Regions from separate parts of the Homo sapiens genome. Here all the other regions are linked to region 1. Evidence: promoter capture Hi-C in human tissues and cell types (Jung and others, 2019). All regions are on one chromosome and are shown on one strand. The core of a region is centred on a gene start or on the middle of the fragment in contact, and the rest is flanking DNA. Distances in the headings are between cores, read along the strand shown. Region 1 holds the start of LYZL2 (lysozyme like 2). Region 2 has its middle 36 kb from the start of LYZL2. Region 3 has its middle 38 kb from the start of LINC02644. Region 4 has its middle 36 kb from the start of LYZL2.

Evidence for each region. Contacts are between HindIII fragments. The study calls those that stand out against the background at their distance.
Region 2: a fragment that was not itself captured here is called in contact with the fragment with the promoter of LYZL2 in region 1 in 1 of the 25 tissues and cell types used here (mesenchymal stem cells).
Region 3: a fragment that was not itself captured here is called in contact with the fragment with the promoter of LYZL2 in region 1 in 4 of the 25 tissues and cell types used here (aorta, lymphoblastoid cells, spleen and 1 more).
Region 4: a fragment that was not itself captured here is called in contact with the fragment with the promoter of LYZL2 in region 1 in 4 of the 25 tissues and cell types used here (adrenal gland, aorta, liver and 1 more).

Annotation. Positions count from the first base shown.
Region 1 is chr10:30,628,367-30,631,066 of GRCh38, forward strand. LYZL2 (lysozyme like 2) reads right to left here and starts at 1,387. Exons shown (of 5, transcript NM_183058.3): 1 at 1,227-1,387. The HindIII fragment of the contact is 10,435 bases long and covers 1-2,700 here.
Region 2 is chr10:30,592,455-30,595,154 of GRCh38, forward strand. No RefSeq gene overlaps it. Among named protein-coding and RNA genes, the nearest start is that of LYZL2, 36 kb to the right of the region's middle. The HindIII fragment of the contact is 8,147 bases long and covers 1-2,700 here.
Region 3 is chr10:30,684,351-30,687,050 of GRCh38, forward strand. No RefSeq gene overlaps it. Among named protein-coding and RNA genes, the nearest start is that of LINC02644, 38 kb to the right of the region's middle. RefSeq lists an enhancer at 1-131. The HindIII fragment of the contact is 9,414 bases long and covers 1-2,700 here.
Region 4 is chr10:30,664,668-30,667,367 of GRCh38, forward strand. No RefSeq gene overlaps it. Among named protein-coding and RNA genes, the nearest start is that of LYZL2, 36 kb to the left of the region's middle. The HindIII fragment of the contact is 3,953 bases long and covers 1-2,700 here.

The sequences.
Region 1 (2,700 bases), core at 137-2,636:
GGGAGCAAGAGGGATGGAGGACAAAGCCTCATGAAAGGAGGAAAGCACCTGGGGGAGCAGAGGGACAATAAAGAGGCCCCCATAGAATCGTCTGAAATGGGAGTAGGATCAAGAGCGCTGTCTCCTGCTGCCTACTGATTTTCCACAATCTCCTCCCCTCTTAAAATAATGTCTTCCCCAAACACAACAGCCTTGCTGGGATGGGGTGAAGTGAAATTTCTGACAACTACTCGGGATCCTGAACTTGATGTTCTTACATATGTTCATCCCGTGTCATTTTCTGCACTTGCCTGGAAACTTCTCTAGTCATTAGTTTCTCTCCCTGGGGCTGGATTCCTGCATTGAAAGGCTAGGCCCAAAACAGGGATAAGTAGTCATCAGCAAGGCCACCGCACCGAGTAACAAGCAGGGCTTTAAGGTGACTAAGCAATAAGATAAGGAACTGCATTGCATGAGGGGCATGTACATTACAAACGTGAATAGCAAGCGTGGGCAAACCAGGCCCGCTTTTGTATGTAAAGTTTTATTGAAACATAGCTACTCTCATCATTTGGTAATATATTGTTGGTGGCTGATTTCCTGCTGCAGTGGCAGAGTTGAGTAGCTGTGTTAGAGGCTGTATAGACCACAAAGCCTAACATATTATTATCTGGCCCTTTTCAGAGAGATCATGCCAGTCCGTGGTGTACAGCATTGTGCTAAGCTGTGAGGGACAGACAAACGAGGTTTAAGATGCAGAGCTTAGGCTGGGCATGGTGGCCCACACCTGTAATCTCAGCACTTTGTGAGGGTGAAAAGGGCAAATTGCTTGAAGCCAGGAGTTTGAGACCAGCCTGGGCAACAAAGGTAGACCTCTGTCACTACAAAATACACAAAAATTAGCCAGGCATAGTGGTGTGTGACTGTGGTCCCACCTGTTTGGGAGGCTGAGGTGGGAGGATCTTTTAAGGCTGGGAGGTTGAGGCTGTTGTGAGTTGTGATTGTGCCACTGCACTCCAGCCTGGGCAACAGAGTGACATCCTGTTTCAAAAAAAAAAAAAAAGATGCAGAGCTTACAAATAAGGTTGGTTTCCATCCTCTGCCTTAGAATGTTAACTGATCTCAAACAAGTCAAAACAAAACCCGTAGCAATGATAACCCCAAGCATCATGTTCTACATCCTTCAAGAACCTGCCATTGCTGGTTCTCAGGGACAGGTGGCTTCATAAGAGTAATTTAGGTCTTACTGAAAAGGCAGATTCCTGGTGCCTGCCGCAGAGGCTGACTTCTCAGTTGAGTCTGCGGAAGAAACACTGCTCCACTTAGTCGGTGACAGGCAGCTCAGGGGAGCGTCCTGCATCCCCTGAAGCCATGTCTGATTCTAACAAGGCTCGAGTAATCCTTTCCTAGCTCAAGAACCTTTCTTTAGAGTGTTAGAGAAAGAAAAATTCTTAGTCCTTTGTTTCTCACCACCTAGAGATGCTAGAATTCTACTTCTTGGCACTAAAAGCTATATCATCCTGCACGCTTGTGTTCTGAAGCAGGTGCTAACTCTCTTCTGGGCCTTAATACCTCTCGTTTTTTCTCTTTTCCTCTCAACAACTGTCCTCACTACACAACTTGGCCAGGGCCTCCCGTCCAAGTGAGAGCTCTTCTCTAAGGCAACAGTCTGCAAACTTTATCACAAATTCCATTAATAAAGTTAAGCATGTATCCTCTTTAGATGTATATTAAATTATAAATCACACTTCTGTACCTCTGTACTAATATGCTACATAAATTATCAACATACACAAAACTAAAATCTGAAAATGAATGAGAGGTGAAATTAACATTAAAAATTAATTAACAGCACATTTCTTTGCTATAGTTATATTGTTAATTAATAAAATATTGTCAAAGGAGGGCCACAAAAGAAATAAAAAATTTTTATGTATAATTAACATGATTTCATTGTTTTTTAAAAATTTGGCTTAACACTTTGTGACTCAATAAAGAGCTAGTTTGAAGGTCCATTTATTTCTGTGTTCAGATTTAATGACACATTTGAAATGAATTCTCATTGGAATATGTAGATCTCAGTATAAGTTTGTTGTTAGTTGTACCTAACTAATTATTGTATTTTATTAAATTCCATCTGCAAATAATGCAAAGATCTTGTTGAAATCTAGTTTTAAGTTTATATAGTATTACATTGTGTAGATATAACATATTTAGCCAATTCCATATTGACTCACACTTAAGGTATTTTTTTCTTCTATGATAAACATATTACAATTAGTAATCTTGTACATTTGTCATTTGTACATTTGCAAGAATATCTGTAGGATACATTCCTGGAAATTGAATTGCTGGGTTAAGGACTGTAATTTTGTAATTTTGCTAGATATTGCCAAATTGCCTTCCACGTGGGCTTGTATGACGAAGATGGCTAGCATACCCTATTACCAAAGGTTAAGATATTTGCTAATATTAGAGATGAAACATAATTTGTCAGCAAAGTTTCAATTTCAGCTTCCCTTATTTCAAGCTGTCTGAGCATCTTTTCTTATCTTCAGAAGCCATTTGTGGACTTTTTTCTCTCTCTCTCTCTCTTTTTTTTTTTTTTTAATTGAGACAGAGTCTCCCTCTGTTGTCCAGGCTGGAGCTCAGTAGTGTGATCTCGGCTCATTGCAACCTCCACCTCGCAGGTTGAAGCGATTCTCGTGCCTCAGCCTCCCG
Region 2 (2,700 bases), core at 194-2,693, 36 kb before region 1:
TTCCCCCTCTCTTTGCTGGAAAAAATTCTTTTTATTTCTTATCCTAAAAGTTAATTTATTTAGAAATTATTCTAAATTTATTTAGAAATCCACAATGTGCTGAGTAGGTCATATTGCTACATGCACCGAGTGGCATGTGGGGCTTCTATCATCCAGATAGCGTGAGAATCTGGTGGCAGATCCCCTTATTCCACAGAGGAAGCGGATAAGGCCGAGAAGGGTGAGGTGAGTACAGGGACAGAGCTGGGTCTGGAGTCCTAATTAGTAAAAAGGAGTCAGGCTGGTGGGAGGAGGGGAAAGCAAAAAGGGGAAACAGGTAAGCTGTAAGTCTGCCTTTCTTCATGGTCCAGACACACAGCCCTCCTGTGCAAATAACTCACAATCTTCCTGTGCCCAGGTATCACCAGACACCTGCAAGTTGGCTCACTGCAACCTTGGCGTTGTCAGTACCACACACAGCCCTCTCCAGCACACAGCACAAGCACCATCCTATAAAATCCCCAGCAAGCCTCTGCCTCCTGGCTGTCAGCTGCTCTTCTGCTGGCTGCCCGTTGCCTTCTTGCAACATATTTTCATGCTTTTTTTAAACAAACAAATCTGCCTTTCTTTATCTACAACTGTCTTGGTAAATTCTTTTACCCCCATGCCACCGGTCCAGATAATTGTGGCTCACCCACAACACTGGTCACTAGAAGAGCTGGGACCAGGGCCCTACTCCCATCACACTTGGCCCAGTGATTCTCCTTCTGAGACTCAAGCTCTTCGAGGTGCAGTTCCAATCACTAGGACACTTTCCTTTCGTTGAGGAACATTGTCTCTGGAAACCACCTGGTAAAAAGAGCAAGTGCAGCACTTTGCTCCCATGCTCAGGTCAGCAGGGAGTGTGGCTCAGCACTCGGGCAGGCTGTCCCCTCCCTCAAGGAGCAGAGACCAGGCTCAGAGGAGAATGTAGAGTGGGCAGAGCTGCTTCAGAAGTTGCGGTCATCAGGGATCAGGGTGGTCTGGAGCCTGTGTCCCTGGTGATGAGTGTAGGGGACCCACATGTGGAAGTTGTGGCCTCTGAAAGGAAAAGCCAGATCCAGCATTTTCCTTAACGGTCACTAATGACCTCTGCACTGCTAGATCCAATGGCCATTCCTCTGTCCTCATTGTCCTGGGCTTCAGCAGCTGGGGTGTGTTGATGGTCCCTTCTCTTTCATGATCTTTTTCCCCTTGGCATCCGGACGCCACCTTCTCTTGGTTTTCCTCCTGCTCCTTGGTCACTCTGCCTTCTCTGCTGTGTCATTCGCTGCACCTTAATCTTGTAATGTCACAATATCTTTGGACTTGCAAAAGGAAAATAAAATCCCTGGACCCCAAACTCACCATGCCAAAGGGAAAAGTGAATCTTGGCAACTGAGTTATGCTGAAACAAACAAACAACAAACCAACAACTGCCTTCCTTTTTTTCCTAGATAGCTGTAATTTCACATGCTTACTTTATCTTCTGTAGAATGTAGATTTACTGAGCACAGACAAATGCATAATTGACCTCCCCTTTTCACATGTAAAATGTGGATTCAGTGTGTACTAATCAGTGTTCTTTTTGCCAACCCTCCCTTTTTTTCCTTTCCTCCTTCCTCTCCTGCCCATTCTTTCCCTTTTAAACACTGAAGTTGTCAAAACCCTCTTTGGACAAAAGCACAGGCTACATATGTTCCTGTAACCTGCGTGTGTGTGTGTAATTTTTTCCTGAGCTCATCCTCAACCTTGGCAAAATAAACCTCTAAATCAGTTGAGATTTGCTGCAGTTCCTTCTTGGTTTCCAGCCTCATCACTTCCTCATCTCCCCACTGAGGCCTTATCCTGTCCCTTGTCTTTAAACATCTGTTTATCTACACATAACAACCCCTGCATGTCCATTGCCAGCCCTGAACTTTCTCCCAAAGTGCACACACATTCGTCCAAGTCCCTCCTTGAGATGGTGGCTTGGATGTCTAGGAGACGTCACACCGATGTGTCCAAATTTCCCCCAGATCTGCTCCGCCCACAGGTTCCCCCATTCCAGGTGTTGGTGGCTCCATTGGTCTAGCTTCCTAGGCTGAACATCCTTGACTCCTCTTTCTCTCACACGGCACACTTAATCCACCAGGAAATCCTGTTGGTTGTATCTTTAAAATACACCCAGAGTCAGACCACTTCTCCCACCTGTCTGCTGCCCCGGGTCACAGTGGCGTCATCATTTCCTGGCTGTGGCAGAACCTAGAACATTCCACCTGGTCTCCTGCTGTGACTCCTGCTACTCCTAAGGGTTCTCTTCAAAACTGCGTCAGGACAATCCTTTCAGAGCAGCTCTCATGGCACTCCTTCTCTCTCTGAGCCCTGCAGTGCTGCCCTTTTCCTTCAGTGCAGAAGCTGGCATCCTTCCCTGGTGTGCCAACCCGGTCCCCTGAGATACAGATGCCCGAGGGGTGGGGGGGGATTCAGTGAGCGAGGCTTTTCCGAGAGCATCTGCCCAAGAGAAGATATCAGGAAGGAGGGAGGAGGCTGAGGGAGGCATCAGGTTGGGATGCAGGTCAGATCTCCAATGCAGGAGAGAGAGGGAGAGTCAGGTGGGACAGTCCCAGGCTGCAGTGAAGCCTCAGGACGTAATCTCTGCAGAGCAGTCTGTGTCTCCCAGGAAAGGGCCTGCCTCATGGCCCCTCTGCGCTGTGCTGAACC
Region 3 (2,700 bases), core at 70-2,569, 56 kb after region 1:
GGCGTGAGTCCTGTCCTCTGCCTCCATCGCTGCTCCTCTCCCTCCCTCCTCAGTCCCATCTCCTCATCCTAGGCCTGTCCTGAGCCCCTCCTCCTTTCCTGATACCCTTTGAGTCCCCTGTAGCTTCTTCCCCTTCCCCTCCTGCCACATCCCCAACCACAAGCTTAATGAGCATCACCAATGGCTTGGAAATGGAAGAAGCAGATCTCTCCAGAAATTTTCCAATTAGAAACTGCTGAGAGCATTTTACGTAGAAATGTTACCGTGCATGTAGGTTTTTTCTACAGCATAGTTCACCCTCAACATCAGATGTCTCACAGTTTAAAGCCACTTCTGTGGGCTCTCCTGGTTGTCTACCTGCCCGCAGAACATCAGTGGCTGCAGGAAAAACCAAGCAGAGTGCCAGAAAACCTCCTGCCCCTTATTCCTAACCAGCCTTCCCTGTCTCTAACTGGGCAAGTTCCTCGTGTGCTCACATGGATAAAGTTTTCTAGATCAATCATGTTCTTTGTGAGTATATAGGGATAAAAATCTCCCAGTTAACTGAGTTTAACTAGATGGGTTAAGACAGAGAAACTTTAAAACCCTGTAGAGTCCAGGGCATGAAAACAATCTATTTTTAATTGTTTGTGTTTACAAAGAATTGTTCTGGTGCTCCAGTGCCCCAAACCGGTAAGTCACAGGACAGAGGCGTTCATCTAAAGTTACAGCATCGCCAATGGTGATCTCCCACCCAACCTGCACGTAAGGAAGCTGAGCCCATTTCAGATAGAACATTTTTGAACATCTTTGGACAATATACTTACTCCTCTTTGTCTACCTGCTTTTTTCACGCATGAAATGCTGCAGGCTGAGATCCACACCGCTGTCATTTCTCTCTCCTGTTTTCTCTTCTGTACATTTATGAACAGCGGGTCACAGAAAGTCGAGAGAGCCAAATGATGATTGAGGAGAGGAAGCAGCTCATCACTGTGAGAGAGGAGGCCTGGAAGACGAGAGGCAGAGGAGCGGCCAACGACTCGACCCAGTTCACTGTGGCTGGCAGGATGGTGAAGAAAGGTCAGTTGTGTGTGTGTGCCTGTGTATGTGTGTGGTGTGTGCACAATGCACACATGTGAGCACACTCACCCATGGAGGGCATGGTGGTACACGATAGCTCAATTTAAAAGAAGAAACCATGGTCTCTTTAATTTTTTTTTTTTTTTTAAGATACAAGGTCTTGCCCTGTTGCCTAGGCTGGAGTGCAGTGGCTCAGTCATGGCTCACTGCAGCCCCAAACTCATGGGCTGAAGCAATCTTCCCACCTCAGCTTCTCTAGTTGCTGGGACTACAGGTGTGCAACACCATGCCTGGCTTTTTAAAACTTTTATGTAGAAATGGGGTGTCACTGTGTTTCCCAGGCTGGTCTCAAACTCCTGGGCTTAAGTGATCCTTCCGCCTCAGTCTCCCAAGTAGCTAGGACTACAGGCGTGAGACACCCTGTCCAGCTTTCTTTAAAAAGTTTTAAACTTACTGACATTCTGTACATGTTTTTTGGGTAGGTTCTGTGAGATAGTCCTACTGAATATCTTTTTGTCATAAATAGTGTCATCTTCAAATGCATAATTTAATTTGTCACTATTTCAAAACTTACCCCTTTAGAATTGAATGCAATTGTAGGTTTCAAAAGCAATTCAGGTCTGCTAGCAAATCTTGGTCCTTTCCCATAATTACTTTTAAATCGTTTCCATTTTCTTGTGACCTGGCAACCACTTACCCCAAGTCAGCCTTTCACAATAGAGAAGTTTGTCTCCTCTTCCTTTTATATTAATTCCTGGGTCCTTCTCCATCAAACCTGATTTCTCTGACTGACCAAAGTCAATCCTGGATATGCTTTAATAGATGTCTAAAATATGTCCTCAGTTCCAAGGCAGTGGGATGTCTCTGGGGCAGTCCATTCTTTGCTGCTGAGCTCTTGGAACTGATTTGTTGTCTGTATTCAAACATTTATGAAATTGACTTACATATGAAATACTTAGTAAAGTCATCTGAGAGCTTTAAGTCTTCATAGGAGTGTTTGGGGCTTTGTTTCATGTCCTGCAGGAAATCGTTAAAATTTGGGGTCCCTTTGTCACCTATATGCACATACCATCATTTTCTAAGCTATTATTTAAAAGCAGATTTCCCAACTTAGTGGTAAACATTTTCACATTCACTTTGTCTTAACATCTTGTCATCAACTTTATAGGCTTAGCTTTCCTTTTTCTCAGAACCTTTAGGGGTCCATGCTTTCATGAATAGTACCTAATTCATTATAGGTACATAATAAATGTTTGCAGAAGGAAAGGAGGGGAAATCCCTGAATTGTAAATAACTCAAATCTTAGTGGGGAATCCCTTCCAATACATCTCTTCAGCCTCATCTTGGAATTGTGAAAAGATGAGAGAAGATAATTTACTCTTACAGTAAATTATTTGCCAATTTTCTGCATCAGATCACAGAACTGGACACTCATGTTTAAACTCCTTTAACGTGAGCCCCAACCCTTCTTTAACAGAAGCACGTCGTTAGGTGCAGGGTGACTAAGTAGAACTGGAACTGAGAACCTGAACCAGACCTCAGGTTTTCCAACTTCTAGCCCAGACTTTCATCTTGATGACTTTCTGCTTTGGTTTCTTTTTTCCTCTTCCATCTTAAAAATCTGAATTTATTTGTAAGTGG
Region 4 (2,700 bases), core at 180-2,679, 36 kb after region 1:
GTTTATTCTATGTTGCTCCAGAGGCCAAAAGTAAGAATAACGTGTAGAATTACAAGGAGGCAGATGAGATTTCATATCAAAAAGAAAATTGGGCCGGGCGCGGTGGCTCACGCCTGTAATCCCAGCACTTTGGGAGGCCGAGGCGGGTGTATTACGAGGTTAGGAGATCGAGACCATCCTGGCTAACTCGGTGAAATCCCATCTCTACTAAAAATACAAAAAATTAGTCGGGCATGGTGGCGGGCACCTGTAATCCCAGCTACGGGAGGCTGAGACAGGAGAATGGCATGAACCTGGTAGGTGGAGCTTGCGGTGAGCCGAGATCGTGCCACTGCACTCCAGCCTGGGCGACAGAGCGAGACTCCGTCTCAAAAAAAAAAAAAATGAAAATTAGGCCAGGTGCGGTGGCTTACGCCTGTAATCCCAGCACTTTGGGAGGCCGAGGCGGGTGGATCACGAGGTCCAGAGTTCAAAAACAGCCTGGCCAAGACGGTGAAACCAGGTCTCTACTAAAAATACAAAAATTAGCTGGGCATGGTGGCAGGCACCTGTAATCCCAGCTACTTGGGAGGCTGAGGCAGCGAATTGCGTGAACCTGGGAGTCAGAGGTTGCAGTGAGCTAAGATTGTGCCATTGCACTCCAGCCTGGGTGACAGAGTGAGATTCTATCTTAAAAAAAAAAAAAGGGCAATATCAAAAAAAAAAAAAGAAAAGAAAATTAATAGTTCACGGTACCTGGAAATGAGGTGGTCCACGCTGTGCTCGCATCGGCTCTCCCCCAGAGTTTTCAAAGGCAAGTCAGTGGCCTCGTGTCCAGGTAGGACAGGTATAGATGGGGCATGGCCTCGTGTCCAGGTAGGACAGGTATAGATGGGGCATGGCCTTGTGTCCAGGTAGGATGGGTGCAGATGGGGAACGGCTGTGAAGTGGAATGATTCTGTCAATGTTTAGGACTCTCTGTGAAAGACAAAAAACCCAATTTTCTTATTTCTTTTTATTTTAATTTATTTATTTTGAGACAGAGTCTCTCTCTGTCACCCAGGCCGGAGTGCAGTGGAGTAATCTCGGCTCACTGCAACCTCCGCCTCCCGGGTTCAAGTGATTCTCCTGCCTCAACCACCCAAGTAGCTGGGATTACAGGCATGCACCACCACATCCAGCTAATTTTTGTATTTTTAGTAGAGACGGGGTTTCACCATGTTGGCTAGGCTGGTCTGGAACTCCTGACCTCAGGTGATCCTCAGCCTCAGCCTCCCATAGTGCTGTAATTACAGGCATGAGCCACTACACCCAGCCTAAACCACAGATTTTTACAATTTATCTGTGATAGCTTTTTCCTAAATGAGACTTTCATCTCTCCCTTTTGTGAAAATGAAATAATGAAGCTTAAACTATTTAAAATAAGAATGTTATTCCTACATTTGGGCTTTACTTTTCTTTCTTGAGAAAGAAATATATAAAATCATAGGACTTTCAAACTTTATTCTACACACCTCTGACTGCCTCATTTTACTAAAGGAGGGATTCGGCTCCAGTAGCCTCCAGGGCCACGTAGTGAATAGAACTGACCCAGGTGCCACGTCTCCATCTCTCCCCTGGTCCATGGCGAGACCGTGGTGTGCTCAGATTAGTGTTACAGCAGCCAACCCCGTGTGCTCTAAACAGGAGAATATGGTAAAAGGACAGAAATTCCAGCTAGACAGCAAGTTAGAAAAACACACCCTCTTTCTTCATGAATTTTCTCAGTTCACATGCTCTTAACAGGGCTTATTTAAAATTACACATCCACATTCACATTTCAGAGTCTAAGAAATAGAGCCTGGAATTTACAGATTTCCTTTATCGTTTTTTATAAATGGCTGCGCCCGCTAAGGAGGGCAGGTCTGTCTTCTTCAGCCTTGTTGCGTCAGTCTCTCCCCTGTCCGGGGCCTGACTATATTGAATGCTCCATGCTCAGTGCTACCCAGCATCACAGACTGCCTTCCACATTTTGCACGATATCTCATTTGATGTTGAAGACAGCCTTCAGAAGAAAGCAATATTATCCCCACTTGGAGACAAAAAGTGGAGAAATTAAGAAATTATAGGAAACCCTCCACACCCTCCTTTTTTAGAAAATGTTTGCTGCTCAAGAAAATATACCAAAAAGTTATTTTTCTGTTTTCATCTTTTCTGACATTGTGAATGTCAAATTTGAACCATAACCAGCATAAAACATAGGATGCAACCGACTTTCCCACTGGATTAGTAAAATCGTTGTTTTATAACTGTCTAAATTATTTGTGTTTAAATTATCCCTGTTTGGGAACTTCTTTGAGAAAGATTGTGAATTAAATAATTCTTACGTTATTTAGGGATAAAACCTTTACTATTGCTTAAAGAGTACATTAGGCCTTTAGAAATCTTATTTCCACAATGTCAGAAACAGTGGCATCTGAGCTTTCTTATTTGGCGAAGAAGAACATTGGAAAAGAATACAAGAGCCATTGTTTCACTTTGGGAAGTTGGTGGCGTGTTAGGACTTCGTGGAACTCCCTGAACTGTTGAAGAATCCACCTCACACCTCTGTGGCGTTCTGCCCTAGAGGGACCGGCTGGAGGCTCCTGTGTTTCCTGCCTGCCGGCCCCCACCCCAACCATCCACCCTTCCATATCCCACCCAGCCAGAGGCTATCTCCATGTCTCCACAAACGCCAGGTTC